Regions from separate parts of the Homo sapiens genome. Here region 2 is linked to region 1. Evidence: promoter capture Hi-C in 16 types of primary human blood cells and fetal thymus (Javierre and others, 2016). All regions are on one chromosome and are shown on one strand. The core of a region is centred on a gene start or on the middle of the fragment in contact, and the rest is flanking DNA. Distances in the headings are between cores, read along the strand shown. Region 1 holds the start of WARS2 (tryptophanyl tRNA synthetase 2, mitochondrial). Region 2 overlaps SPAG17 (sperm associated antigen 17).

Region 1 (3,644 bases), core at 306-2,805:
AATATCACATTCTTTGGGTTCTACAACACCTCTTGGCTCCTTTATTTCCATCATCTGGCTACTTTCACTCCACAAACTCTATCTGATGGTCTCAAGGATTTCCTTGGTTTCAATTACCATCTGTTTGGTAGTTCAAATCTCTTCTGAGCTCCAGACCCATGTATCTATTTAATGGGCATCACATTTTGGAAGTACTACAAGCACCTCAAATTTAACAGCCAAAACCAAACTGATCAGCTTTGTTGAAGACTATAACTTGATTTCCTAGTTTTTTTTTTGCCTTCATCCCTTTCCTGCTCACTTCTAAATTACACCAATTATACTTGAACTTCACCAGTACTTTGTATACCTACAAGATTATCCTATATGGTTTTAATTTACTGTTTTGTCTTACCCTGGTAGATTTCAGCTCCTTTATAGGCATCTCTTATCTCCTACCTCTCCTTGGTAATTTTCAGTAGCTGGATGAATTATAAACAAAACACATAAAGGAATTGTCATGAATTTCTTCCAGTTATATTTTTACTGAAACACTCGTTATCTGTCTGGGAGATTTTTAGGTGAATTAACAGAAGCAGAAAAACTGTATTAAACTTTCTCATAACCCCAAACAAAACAATTTCTTCCATCAGGTATAACCTTCCTGCAGCCTTCCCTAGACTAGGTTGAAACACCACAGTCATAACCACTCCTCCTTAAAACTTGCGGTGCTTGCTTCTTTAACACCTATTAAGTGTACATCATTTATTTATCCGCTACTCTATTAGACTGTACACAACTTGAAGACAAGATATGTCTTTCTCTGTACCTTCAGTGCCCAGCACATTACGGTAGGGTTCAACAAAGTTTACAGGACGAATGAAATAAGGCCACATAAGTCCAGTGCGGTGGCACATGCCTGTAATCCCAGCACTTTAGGAGGCCGAGGCAGATGGCTTGGCTTGAGCTCAGGAGTTTGAGAGAGCCTGGGCAACATGGTGAAACCCTGTCTCCACCAAAATACAAAAATTAGCCGGGCGTGGTGGCGCACCCTTGTGGTCCCAGCTACTCAGGAGGCTGAGGCAGGAGAATAGCTTGAGTCTGGGAGGTGGAGGTTGCAGTGAGCCGAGATCGCGCCATTGCACTCCAGCCTGGGCGAGAGTGAGACCTTGTCTCAAAGAAAAAAAAGGGAAATGAGGCCACACATGTCTAAAAAGACCACTTATATTACCCTCTAAGAGAACTGGGAGTTTCTAAACAAACTTTTTAAAGGTTGCCTTCACATAGCTAAGATCAGAAATGCAGCCTACTTGACTTTCTTCCAGTCTAAAGCGTTGCTACTAATAACCCCCAAGGAAATTCTCCTTCCAGGAAGGCTGAGCAGACAAGGGATCCAGGGAAAAACACTAAAGCCCCACCCCGCTCCTGTCCCCACCTGCTCGGCAAGAACTGCAGTCCGCCCGATAGCGGCTGCGCTGCGCAGCCTGGAGGCCCAAGCCGCGCCCAGCAAGCAGGAGTCGCGAGACTGGGATTGGCTCTCTGAACAGACGTCATTCCAAACAAGACGGCTCCGCCCTTCTCAAGATGGCGCTGCACTCAATGCGGAAAGCGCGTGAGCGCTGGAGCTTCATCCGGGCACTTCATAAGGGATCCGCAGCTGCTCCCGCTCTCCAGGTAACCAAAGACGGCCCTTCCCTCCGCGGCTTCCCATCCCGCGAGGTTCTTCTCATCCCACTGCCCTCTATTTATTTCTCTCCTCCCGCTTCTTAGGGAAAGTACATGCCTTCCCTCGCCTAAGGTCTACTCGTCTATGACTGTCGGCCTGCTCAGAGCGTAGTGACGTTGCAAGGATACGTGATGACGTAAAGGTTTCTTGGTGGAAAAAGCGCGCCGCTTTCTGACCTCTTGCCGCCACCTCCAGTTCTGGGAGCGGAGCGCCGCCGCTGTTGCCGGGCAACGCGGTGAGCCTACCCCGCGTGTGATGTTTTCAGAGACGGGTTGTTTTAGAGACTGCTCTTCTTGTGGTCTTATTACTGTTTTTACCCTCCTTACCCTAACAACACGCTAAGGGGCTATCGGAGAGAGTAGAGAAGTTTTGTTAGGCATTGGGCAGCTTGGGTCGGGGCAGCAGGTTGGCAGTGTGGTACTTGAGCAAGTGTCAGTGCATCTTCCATTCTGGTTGCTCCTGGTGGCTCCACAGCACTGCTCTATCTAGCAGGCTGTGAAAGAGTGACCGCAAGCTGCTACAGAGTTTGTCCTGTCCTGCGCTTGACAACACTGCTGTTACCATTAATCTCGTCGTACGGAGACCATGTCGCGGCCTGGTCTTATTGGGAATTGTCTTAAATATTTGGAATTTTACCCTCATAGCAAAAAAGTCAGGGGGAGGGGATACCCTTTCAGTTATTCAGGATTTTACCAAACGTCTTCCAAGTACAGTCTCAGTGGCAAGCACTTTGACATACTTTATCTACGGGAGATATATTCTGGGAACTAGAGAGAAAGGAGAGAATGTGATTTTATTAGGTAATTTCCCGGCATCATTTGCATATGTATTGCCATAATGAGTAGGTGTGAGGATGTCGCACCTATTGTAACTGTTGTGTTGAAAACAGCGCTAGACAGGAAGGTAGCCTAGAGGTCAAGGGTTTGGTCTGCCACTTGACAGCTGTGTGACAAGTCACAATCTCTCTGGGACTTTTCTTCTTTTTTTGCTCATATTGAGTGGAGGAAGAGAGCTGGACTGATTGACACGTTAATGTTCTTTCAACCTCTGGAAAATCTATAGTTCCATGATTATGAAGCCAAAACAAAGCCAATGAGAGTAATTATGAAAACCAAAATTTAAGTTCAACTTATTTTTCTAGTCATGTCATAAATTTTTTGAACTTCCGTTTTTTATTAATGTGAGCCTCACAAAATTCTTATAAGCTAATATATTAATATATACCGGAAAGCTGCTTGTCAGCAAACAACTATTCAAATGTCACCTTAAATTTCAGCAGCAATGTTAGGTAAGACAATTCAAAATTAGATAAATTTATCAAAAATTCCTCTCCTTGAAATTTGAGGGTTTGATTCTGCAGAACTAGAATGAGATGATTATTTATAATTTATAGCACATTAACACCTATGCTATCAAAGTAGCTAAGCCGTAGACCCAAACTTCCCCTTATTCCAAACTAAAGAATTGAAGATGTCTTGAGAATAGAGAATCAAAGAGAGAGAGAAAAAAAAGACAAACTGCAGCCTGCTAATGACTGCCCAGGGAAGTTTAAGACACTAAGTCATTATAAATGCTAAAGAAAAAATTTCTTAAACCTCTACTATTGTTTCAGTGGCATTTATGAATAGGGCTATTAAAGTTAATTATTAATCTAGATTGTTTCAAGATGTAGAATTTCCAGTACCGATGAATGTTTCTAAACCTTTAATTTAGCTTTGAGTAGAATAAGTATTAAATGTGAGAGTATTTTTTTAAAGTATAAATCTACATATAATTTCAGTCATTGAAAATGATGGTTTGAAAGATTAATGTGGTTTTTTGAAAGACTGAGAAAAGATACAAAATTGTGTTCATAGTGTTATTACGATGTTATGTTTATATATAAGTGTTTATATAAACGTATACATAGAAAAAAAGCCTGGAAGGGAACAAACATTTT
Region 2 (3,644 bases), core at 706-3,205, 1.0 Mb after region 1:
CTTTAAAATCCTAAAGATGGAAATCTATGAGGAAACATTTCAAACACTGGAAAAAGTACATGGTTTAGATTCATGCCTGAACTTAAGTATACTTGCTACCTATGCACAAATAATTTTCTGTGTATGTATGCTTTATGGCCCACATAGAAAATCTGACCTGTTCATTTACAGGTATAGTCAGTCCTGACCAAAATTAAAAAGGAAAATATCAGTAGTCATTCAAAACCAACTGAAATGTTCTCGATGAGAGAGTTCTACGTGTACCATAGATGCCAAGATTCTCCCAGTTGTGACTAAATCTGATACACAGTAAGTGAACTTTATGGGATAAATGTGCAAATTTTAGGTTTGACATTATCACTTTGGTAAATCAGAAAAAGCTACTAGTTGATAGGGGTTTACTTATCCAATTTATCTGAAATCAGAACCAACCATCCTAAAAGTTTTTAAATTCCACTTCATGTTTCTTTTCATTTCATGATGGTGGTCACCATGCCTACCAACCAGGAAATGAGCCTTCATCCACACAAATGGGCCGTGATTTATGTGCCTGTGACTTATTTATAAAAGACGCATTAGGTCATCACAAAATGAAAAATAAAAAAAATGAAAAGCTTACTGAAACAAAAATTGTCTATAAAGAATAAAAGTTCTTATGCTCTAGTTGATGACTCACTTATTTCAAAACAATTTTCCAAGTTTCTGTACAATAAAGAACTTGAACTATCCTAAACATTATGTGATATGGTGCAATTTTGTAAATGCAAATAATTATTAATTTTTTTTTTACTCCTGTCAGTAAAAAAATTCTCATATTTTTAAGAAAATAATTTTTAAAATAACTTTTTAACAAATATATCTTAAAATATTTCTACGGGCCTTTCTATTGCAACCGGGAGACCATCAAATGTGGAAAGATTTTTCTGATATTAGATTTAAAAATAATGGACCAAATGCAGTTTAATAAAATGTAGAATGCAAATTAGATCTTCAGATCTAATGCATTTCACCATACTTTAAGACACTATGCTAGTGCCTCAGATTAGTATGCCCAGATGTAATAGTTCCATTTTTTGACTTCTGTTTCCTGGATGTATAGAAATTTTTCTCAGGTCTTTTCCAACATGTATTTATTAGTAATTGACAAGTGAGAACACAGGCTTAATTATAATCTATTTTGCCACTCTTTTTCAGATTCCTGATATGAAACTCATTTTTTAAACAGTGCCTTGAATTAATAGTCAATTTAATAGAATTGTAAGCCCTTATATTGGGGGTGGCCCTTGTCAGAATGAAAAATGGAAAACTCATGCTTCAGAGATAGGTACAAATAATATGTGAAAACATTTAAGAGGTTTGAAGTTATTAAAATGGCAGCTCTACTGGGAACAGAGAGAGCAGTATGTCATGGAAGAAACGAAGGAAAAGGGAGACAGGAAGCATTCTCTGGCCTTTTCAATCCCGCGCTTTAAAACAAAACAAAAAAATTCTGGAAGAATTGGAAGCTAGCCAACCTAATGCCGTTATTTCATAGAGCTTAGGGACACACCAGGAAATTGCAGGCCAGTTAGTTTAACTTCACTTGTAGGAAAAGTATTAAAAACTGCTGCAGGAGATCAAGTAAAAGGATGCTTAGAAAAGCACAGCTTGATTAAGGCAAGCCTGGCCAACGTGATTTTCGGAAAGGGAAGGTCATGTCTTAGGAACTTGTTGAAATTCTTTGAAGCTATTATGGCCAGTACAGTCTTCAAAGAATACAGCAAGACTCAGAATCTGCGGATCTTTCCGTTCCACATCAGTCCTTCAGGGATGCCTACAGAACGTGGCCCACACCAGGGCCTCGGCACTCCACATTTAGAAACCACTATCAAAATAGCAGAAATAACCCCTGATGGAACATTTTTTAAAGCTGGAACCAATTAATACAACCTGATATTTATAAATGTAAAATAATGAGACTTGGAACAAAATTTGGGAATATCAAGCTGTAACAAAGAAGTGCTACGTTGGGACTATAAAAACAATCTAGGAGTTCTTGTGCCAAAATCTGGGTTTTGGAGGCATTTCTTACCCGAAGAAGGAAAGAAGAGGAGAAATAGTAATGCTAGAAACGGTTACAAAGGGCTATGAAGAGTTACAAATGAATGACTTTTGTCAAGATGGGGAAAAGAGCAGTCAGATGTGTTAACAGCCCTGGGCCCCCACATTTCTGGAGGGCACCAAAGCAGCTCAGCAGAGAAAGTCAAGTTCAAGCTAGTCACTGAGGGGCAGAAGGTCAGGGCTCCATTGCTTTAGGAATGGGCTCCCAGGGTGTGAATACGTTTGCCTCCCAGATCAGAAACCTGGAGTTCTATTTTCAAAGAAAAGCAGAACTCAAGTAAAGGCATTCAAAAACAATTCAAATCATGCCCCAGCTCTCTTCCACCCTGGGGGTCAGGCAGCTGGCCAAGCCCATGTGGCAAATAGTTAGCAGTCCAGGAGAGGGGAGGTAGACACTGGGGAGGTGTGGTGGTGATGCAGTGGAGCCGGGGATCCAGCAGCAGGAAGCCCATGCCACACAAGGACTGGGTTGCTGGCTAGGACCTGCAGGCAGTGGGCAAGGCAGGAATCTCATCAGGAGTTCCAAGACAGACCTCAGTGGAGGGCCAGCCACAAGAATAAAGTGAGGTTCAGCTAATGAAGAGAAGTCATCACAGCTTCTCCTCCAGGTCTGGGCTGGGGTGGTTTCTGAAACCTCTTAACACCCTATACTCTACAGACACCAGGATTGGAGGGGTGCTGGGGAAGGAATCAAGAAGATTGTATCATTCTGTTTCTGTATTTAAAACTGTGAAAAATCAATAATTACATATGGTGATAATAAAAGTTACCACTTATTGAACACATGTATTCCAAGTCTTGTGTGCTGGGTAGTTCATATATATCAACTAACCTAATCTCTTTTTTTTTGGCTGGCTTTTTTCTTTTTGTGGGGAACAGGAGCGTGCTATGTTGCCTGGGTAAGTCTTGAACTCCTGGGGTTCAAGCTATCCTCCCGCCCCTGCCAGCCCAATTACTGGGATTATAGGTGTAAACCACTGCACCTGGCTAACTTAACCATCTTAACAACCTTTCAGATACCTATGAATGATGAAATTTGAATCAGACTGGTTAGGTAACTTGTTGATTCAGAAGTCTGTTTTTTCTACTTGCATCACACACAAGCTGAGAATAAATAGTTTAAATTCTGGAAGTGACTGTTGTGGTTTAATATGTCTTCAATATAAGCTACTGCTAGTTACTTAGAATTAAGCTTTAAATCTCTCAGTAGTTCTATGATATGTTTATTACTTTTCCTTCTACTCAGGCAAAAACATGAAGGTATATCTGCAGATGATGAAGAGATCAAATAATTTCAGTTGGAGCTTTTAAGCCACTTCGATGAGTGGCTTTTGCCCACATGTTTGGGTCAACAGGGTTTTTTAATTCTTATGGTTAAGATTTATATGGTTAAGTGACCATGTCTTTTCTTTGGAGGATGAAAGAAAGAAAGATGGAAAATAAGAGGGAAGTTAATACATATTCAGCAGAGATCAAAGTGTGGAGAGACCTTTCTAAAATCTCACTAATTAAAACTAATTAGAGGTAAATTCATCTCCAGAGTA

Evidence for each region. Contacts are between HindIII fragments. The CHiCAGO score rates a contact against its expected background, and 5 or more counts as called.
Region 2: a fragment that was not itself captured here is called in contact with the fragment with the promoter of WARS2 in region 1 in 1 of 17 cell types (M1 macrophages); the score reaches 5.0 in M1 macrophages.

The regions. Positions count from the first base shown.
Region 1 is chr1:119,138,564-119,142,207 of GRCh38, reverse strand. WARS2 (tryptophanyl tRNA synthetase 2, mitochondrial) reads left to right here and starts at 1,555. Exons shown (of 6, transcript NM_015836.4): 1 at 1,555-1,653. The coding sequence starts at 1,564. WARS2-AS1 (WARS2 antisense RNA 1) reads right to left here and starts at 1,812. Exons shown (of 7, transcript NR_125975.1): 1 at 1,415-1,812; 2 at 395-461. RefSeq lists an enhancer at 1,474-1,783. The HindIII fragment of the contact is 7,742 bases long and covers 1-3,644 here.
Region 2 is chr1:118,142,861-118,146,504 of GRCh38, reverse strand. All of the region lies in intron 3 of SPAG17 (sperm associated antigen 17), which reads left to right. Among named protein-coding and RNA genes, the nearest start is that of SPAG17, 41 kb to the left of the region's middle. The HindIII fragment of the contact is 2,678 bases long and covers 617-3,294 here.